Regions from separate parts of the Homo sapiens genome. Here region 2 is linked to region 1. Evidence: promoter capture Hi-C in 16 types of primary human blood cells and fetal thymus (Javierre and others, 2016). All regions are on one chromosome and are shown on one strand. Each heading gives the region's core, a stretch centred on a gene start or on the middle of the fragment in contact. The rest is flanking DNA. Distances are from core to core; before and after follow the strand shown.

Evidence for each region. The method cuts DNA at HindIII sites, captures the fragments that hold promoters and counts their contacts. A CHiCAGO score of 5 or more calls a contact.
Region 2: a fragment that was not itself captured here is called in contact with the fragment with the promoter of ASCC3 in region 1 in 1 of 17 cell types (non-activated CD4 T cells); the score reaches 10.6 in non-activated CD4 T cells.

Annotation. Positions count from the first base shown.
Region 1 is chr6:100,879,421-100,882,837 of GRCh38, reverse strand. It overlaps ASCC3 (activating signal cointegrator 1 complex subunit 3), which reads left to right and starts at 1,509. Exons shown (of 42, transcript NM_006828.4): 1 at 1,509-1,777. It overlaps LOC107984041 (a long non-coding RNA gene), which reads right to left and starts at 1,381. Exons shown (of 8, transcript XR_007059692.1): 1 at 1,184-1,381. RefSeq lists an enhancer at 1,546-1,665. The HindIII fragment of the contact is 1,558 bases long and covers 1,029-2,586 here.
Region 2 is chr6:117,677,643-117,680,935 of GRCh38, reverse strand. The region is part of intron 1 of NUS1 (NUS1 dehydrodolichyl diphosphate synthase subunit); the gene reads right to left. Among named protein-coding and RNA genes, the nearest start is that of NUS1, 3.8 kb to the right of the region's middle. The HindIII fragment of the contact is 942 bases long and covers 981-1,922 here.

The DNA of each region.
Region 1 (3,417 bases), core at 260-2,759:
TTTCAAATGTCAAGAGACGTATTTAACTGGTGGCTACCCCAATGGATAGGGCAGTTCTAGGTAGTCTATTTTCAGTTCCTCTCTTCTCCCTTAAGCCTCTGGAACTGTGATGGGAATAATCTGTCATGTGAATTCCTAGCACTTATCAGCACCTCTCATTATCACTTGGCCTCCTTGCATTATTTATTTTTGTGATGCATTTGTCTTGTCTCATGAACTAACTTGTAAACTCTATGAAGTCCAGGACCAAAGACACATGTAATCTCAAGACTGGAAATATCTTTAACAAAACCATCAACTAATTATTCTGTTGATGTGTGGCTCCCCTGTACCAAGTCCCTATTAAGTGAGCTTCAGAATCTCCTTGAAGCAAAATTCTGTGGTTGAGGTATTCACACATGCTAAGGTAGGCAATTCTTTGGGTCGTGCTACAAGGGCATCTTCTTTTCAGGATCTTAAATCTGTTCCCTGAAGTTTGCATCACATGAAACAAATCAACTTCACATGATAGGTCATTTCATATTTGGAGAGAGTCCAGTAGTTTTCTCTCTTCTAGGTGAGTCCTGGAAGGTTTAATCAATCCTTCTTCACTTGCCCTGTTTTTGAGTTCTCGTCATCATTTTGCTCTTCCCTGATATAATGCCAGCTTGATTAAAGTCTTCAAATGCTGAACACAGCACTTCAGAGGTGGTCTGACCAGTAAAGACAATAACTGGATCACTATTGGCTGCCTCTACAAAACAGTTCTACCAGGCATCGGGGCACATTACCTTGAGGAAGCGGGAATGGCAGAAGAGAGCCACAACAAACATATTAACTCATACTATCTTTGCATTGTTGGCTTTTAGTCTAGAACTCTTTGCAGATAAACCACACAATTCTTTAGGTTAGTTTTTCTTCGTATCTTCCTATCTTTTCAATCGAGTTAGGGAATCTTTGGGCTTTCTGTTTTTGGAGGAGGTCTTCTGACCGAAGAGCCGACTTGCAGAGATCACTTTGAGGGAACTAAGCTGAGAATCCAGAAAGCTTATGGAAAACAGGCCTTGACACCAGAGAACCATGTATACTCTCTAGCAGCCAGAGGGCTTTGGCTGAAAACGACGATAGCAACTACCTGTTTCTTCATTCAAATTGCTCTCCTTTCCTTTACCTTTAATAGGAATTATTTCCTCCACATATTTACCTTACAGAGAAGGGCGGGGAGAAGACGCGGCAGACTGAAGTAAATGCAGGGAAAAAACTCACAGGTAGAGAGGTAGAGACGGCAGGCCTGGCCCGTTGCGGGCAGCCAGGGTAAAGTGGAGCGTCCCGCTCCCGCCCTGGGGCGCATCCTCGCCGCCGCCGGGACCTTCCGCCTCTGCTCCTCCGAACCCAGCGGACTAGAGGCTGGAGGCGGGAGGCGGAGCGGCGCGCGCACGCGGGCGGGGCAGAGGGCCCGGAGTCGACGAGTCGACGTGCCGACGTTGGCGCTGCAGCGGGGCGGTGACGTGTAGGCCGGCGCCAGCTCCACTCTGTCCCTCCTCGCCGGGTCTGTGCGTCTTTGCGTCTGTCTGTCTGACTGATGGTCCTCACACGCGGTTCCCTGTGACTGGGCGCGACCCCGGCAAGCGCGGCTTGGAGGGCGGACGGGGCGCGGCGATACAGCTGCCCGCTCGCATCTTTGGCCCTGCGCTCAGCTCCTCACCCGGCGTGGGAAGTTAAAGTAAAACCGAAAGGGAAGAAGGCGCGGTGGCAGGAGCTGACAGAGTGATGGGAAACGCGTGAGCCAGGCCGAGAGGTGAGGAGGTGGAGGTGGAGGTGGGAGGACGAGAAGGGTCGCCGCGGCCAGGGGAGCTGGCTGGAGGCGGGGACGGCGAGGCGGGCTACGCGACCCGCCAGAGATTCTCTTCCTGCCTCCGGGGCAAGTCCCGACCTGTCATCCTTTTCAGTGGCATGAGGTCGAGTCCGGGGTCTCGCAACAATACCGCCCATTCCTAGAGTTTGTAGGTGGGGTTGGGGATAGAAAACTTAACCTAAGCTACATATTGTCCAAGTGTTAAGCCACAACGTGACCAGATGAGGTTTTTCTGTCCCATGCATGGGTAATTTGTTTTCTTTTTTTCTGTTACAAAGCCTTGATAACTTCGTTTTCTTCACGTAGATTTGGGGAAAGAAATCTTCCTCATATTTTTCCCCCAACACACTGGAAAGTAAATAGGTAGCTGACCGTGATGGATTGTGGGTGAATTTCGCAATCAAGGAGCCTATAATGTCATTTTGAAATAAATAAATGTGTATGTGGGTGCTAGGGAGGTTTTGTGAGTACTGGGCAGTCATTTCAAATAGGTTTCTTATAAATTAACTTACTCATGGAATGCAGTGTGCTAATGGTATTTGCTATTCTTTGGTTTAAAAGAAGCATAATTCTAGGGGCTGGTAAAAGTTTGATGTGTTGTCACTTGTGCATTCAAACTCATGGTTACATTTTCTTTCTTTCCCTAGGTTAGGTGAGATTGACAGCCATTTTCTCCATCACCAGATTTTATGTTTCATAGATTGAAATCCTTTTTCTGATTCTCAAAGTTCTCAAATGTTGAGAATTAAGCTTTTGGTTTTACTATGGATTGTGCTCCAGTTTATGTTGTCTCTTTTTTTTAATGATGGTTATAATAGTCTTGCATGAGAAAAATGATCCTTAAAGATGCTCTTAAGCTTAGGCTAAATAATCCTATTTATATGAGAAATTAATTTTTCATGGTTCAGCTTTCTTGATCCCTGCTTAACAGTTTTTTGTCATTCATTCATTCAAGTCTTCCTATGTGTCAAACGCTGGGCTAGGCCTAGGAGAGCAAGAGAGAGACAGTCTCTGTGCTCATGAACTTTCTATAATCCAGCAGCCTCCTTTTAAGACAGAATCTTGACTAGGGTTCTTTCTCATGCCATGGATCTGTAGTTAACCAAAACAAAGCTTTTAAAAGAAAAAGTTATTGTCAATGTATATATGTAATTGGCATTGAAAGGGGAACAGATGATCTTGCTTTAACAGCATGATTTGATATTGCCTTTGATCAAAAAGTAGTATATGTACCAGTGGTTTGCCATTTCAGAAGAGTAAGTTTTTCTTTTTCAAAGCTTGTTTAAATATAAAGTTCACAGTTCTACCTCAGTTTCTACCTCAAAAAAAATAAATAAATAAAAAGCTTTTTCTTTTGAGGTAGAAATCAGTTTCTTTCCAGTCTTCACTTTGGTCTGATTGATCTCCTGTGTATCTCTGGAACCCCTAGGCTCAAGCAGTCCTCCTGCATCGGCCTCCCAAAGTGCTGGGATTACGGGCCCCATTTTGCCTTTTTGTATGCTAATGAATTGACTAAGAATTTTGTCTTAGCTAGCTGGCTGCTCCTAGTAGCTTCAGGATGGGGGCTGGTTACCAGAAAGGTC
Region 2 (3,293 bases), core at 202-2,701, about 17 Mb before region 1:
TGAGAAACCTGTACCCAAAAACCATTTCAAAAGCAACCTAGCTTCGATTTAAATAAACTAAGGAAATAGCACTAGAAAGAGCAGCACACAAAAAAAATTTGTTGTCTTACTGTTGAATTCTCACACAGAAGGCAATGCCTTATTCTGGATCATTCCAATTTACAGCAAATAATCCTAAGGCTTACCCCAAATTATCCTCAATCATGAAAAGGAACATGAAATATAAATAATCTAATGTAAGGCAAGTAGCAGAGTATCCTTTGATCTGTGTTAGGGTTAAACTTCAGTGTGCAGAAGTATCATACAGGTAGCTTGATAAAAACAGAGACGCCCAGGTCCCAGTTCCCTCATTAAGTTTGATTACTAAGTGTGTTGAATCTGCATTTTTTATAAGCATCCCCAATGACTAATTCACAGATGGTCCACAGACAGGTTTTGAAAAATACCAATCAACAGCAAGGTTCCCAGCAAGGCACAATAAAGCCAGGAAATAAGAACAAGTTCCATCACTTAAGATAACAATACATATCCAGATAACTTGGAGCCAAGTGTACCTGCATGTGAGACACAGGCAAACAACACTGCTAAGGCTAGAACAATAAAATCCATTTACCCCAACCCCTGGTTCTTGTACCATCCCAGTTATGGTCATTTCTTAAATTATAATCATATAGACAGAACAGCCAAATCTCGCTAGAATTCTGAACTCAAAAAATTCCTGATCACTGTCCTGAGAGAACAACCTGAATTTTTGAAAGATGAAAGAATTACTTGCAGACTCTATTATAATCAAGAAATATTGCAGGTAGTGAAAAACAAAAAGATCAGTTTGCTGGCAGTCAAATTAAGGTCAATATAATAGATCTTTTAGTCTAAGGATTAAATGTTGTTATCTAGATCCAACCATAATTAGAACGAATTTAAGTACAAATTTGAGAGCAAAGGGGTGTAGGACAGAATAAAATGTAAGGTGGTAAGCTTGTCTTCAAAGTGGCTGCCCGTCCATCTCCCTTCAAATCCTCACCCAACCTTTCTACACAAGCCATTTTCTCATTGAGAGGTGAAGTCCATTTCTCCACTTTCTTGATGCAGAACAGATGTGAGACTTCTCTGACCAAGAGAACATAGCAAAAATAACACTGCATGATTTCCTAGGTTAGGTCCTAAGACATCTTTCAGCTTCAGCCTTTGGCCAAGTCTCTGGAAACATTTGTTCTGGGGGAAGTTAGTTAACTGGTTACCCTGAAGTCAACCTCCAGACCATGTGAAGCCAGATGACCAACCTGCCCCATCTATTTCAGCCATCAAAAACCAGGCACCAGACATAAGGAGAAACCTTTGGGTCCCAGACTCTATCTGAATGAAAGCTATGAGTGACCCAAAGGAAAAACTGCCCAACTGAACTAAGTCAATATATAAATTGTTGTTTTAAAACACTATGCTTTGGGTAGATTTCTACAAAGCAGTAGGTAACCAGAATAGCTGTCCAAGCCTTCATCCTACCTCATTTCCCAACTGTTCATTACATAAATTCACTGCTCCCAACACTCTACTCAATGCTATTACTGAACCTAGTCTAATGAGAATGCTGCCATTAGGGAAATCCCCATTCACACACACAGAGAACACTGTTCACGCCAATCCCAATTCTATCTTTTTGACTAGGTCCAGCTCAGGTGTTGCTCCCTTCCTTACCAGACAAATATGGAGGTAACCCGGGAAATTTTCCATTTTTCGCTCCTTAAAGTATCTGCCATTCACTTAGCATTTCTATATTAGCTTGTGTTAATTTTTAATGGACATCCTTACTTGAGTGGAAACTCTTTAAGAGACACCATTTCTTGTACTTCTTGTATCCCAGTGGCATTTACGAGTATGTCAATAGGATTTTTCATAGTTAAATATCTATCTAGAAATAAGCTTAAATAGACATTTATTTAGAAACACTGAATATGGCCGGGCGCAGTGGCTCACACCTGTAATCCCAGCACTTTGGGAGGCTGAGGCAGGCAGATCACCTGAGGTCAGGAGTTTGAGACCAGCCTGGCCAATATGGCAAAACCCTGTCTCTACTGAAAATACAAAAATTAGCAGGGCGGGGTGGCGCGCATCACCTGTAGTCCCAGCTACTTGGGGAGGCTGAGACAGGAGAACTTGAATCTGGGAGACGGAGGTTGCAGTGAGCCTAGATTACACCACTGCACTCCAGCCTGGGTGACAGAGCGAGACTCCGTCTCAAAAAAAAAAAAAAAAAAAAACCACTGAAAAAGAAACACTAAATAAAGCTTACATGTCTATACTCCCTCTGAGTGATTCTTACATATCCACATGGCCTATATTTTCAAGTCTATATTCAAAGAGCCTCTCCTTGGCCTCCCTATTTAAAACTGTACCCCTTCCTACACCACTGACTTTCAACATTCCTATCTTCCCTTCTCTGCTTTACTTTTCCTCATTGCACTTACATTACCACATATTTACCCACGTATATTATTTGTCAGACTCCCACTGAAATCTAAGTTCCATGAGTACACTGCTGCATTCCCATGTCTGGAAGAGTATCTGGTACTTAACAGACCCCAACTGTCACCTGTAAATGAATGTATGAACGAATCAAAACCAAGAATGGACTAATTGAAGGTCTCTTATTTCAGGAATATTTCTTATTCTTTTAAAAAAAACAAACAAAAAAACTGATTTTACAGTTAAGATACAAAATCCTGTAAGCCCTTTCACTGAAAATGCTCCTTAAGGTGCCTTTCAGTTCTCAGCCAAAACTTGGCTTAGCTTACTTCTTCCTTTTAATTACTAATCATTTTTCTTTTAGCAACTATGACACAGGATACTTCTGAATCACATCAGCAATTTAAACACAGGACTTGCAGAAACAAGGAAATGTGGCAACATTATAGTCTGTACTAGTAGGCACGGTCATCAAGTCAAACAATTTAGCTATACATTTTCCTTCCCTACTGGAAGATAAAGATACTTGCTTTAAAAGAATCACCTGGCTGTACATCAATCCACCACGTTGCTTAATGCCTTTATGTCCACTTTTGCTTCACCTATTTTTTTCCCCAAGCAAAACTGGTTGCATTGGTTTAGGCATGGATTGTGTCATCTCCTAACAGTCTCATGATTTCTATTGGTCTGCTGAGTTCTTTAGCAAGTTCCATAAATGTCAGTCTCTGAATATATCAAACTTTACCCTATAGGGCAAATCATCATTTGGTGATGACAGGCTACTGCGTCATCATGTTCCTTGCGGGCTGCAGGAAAGATGATAGGGCAAT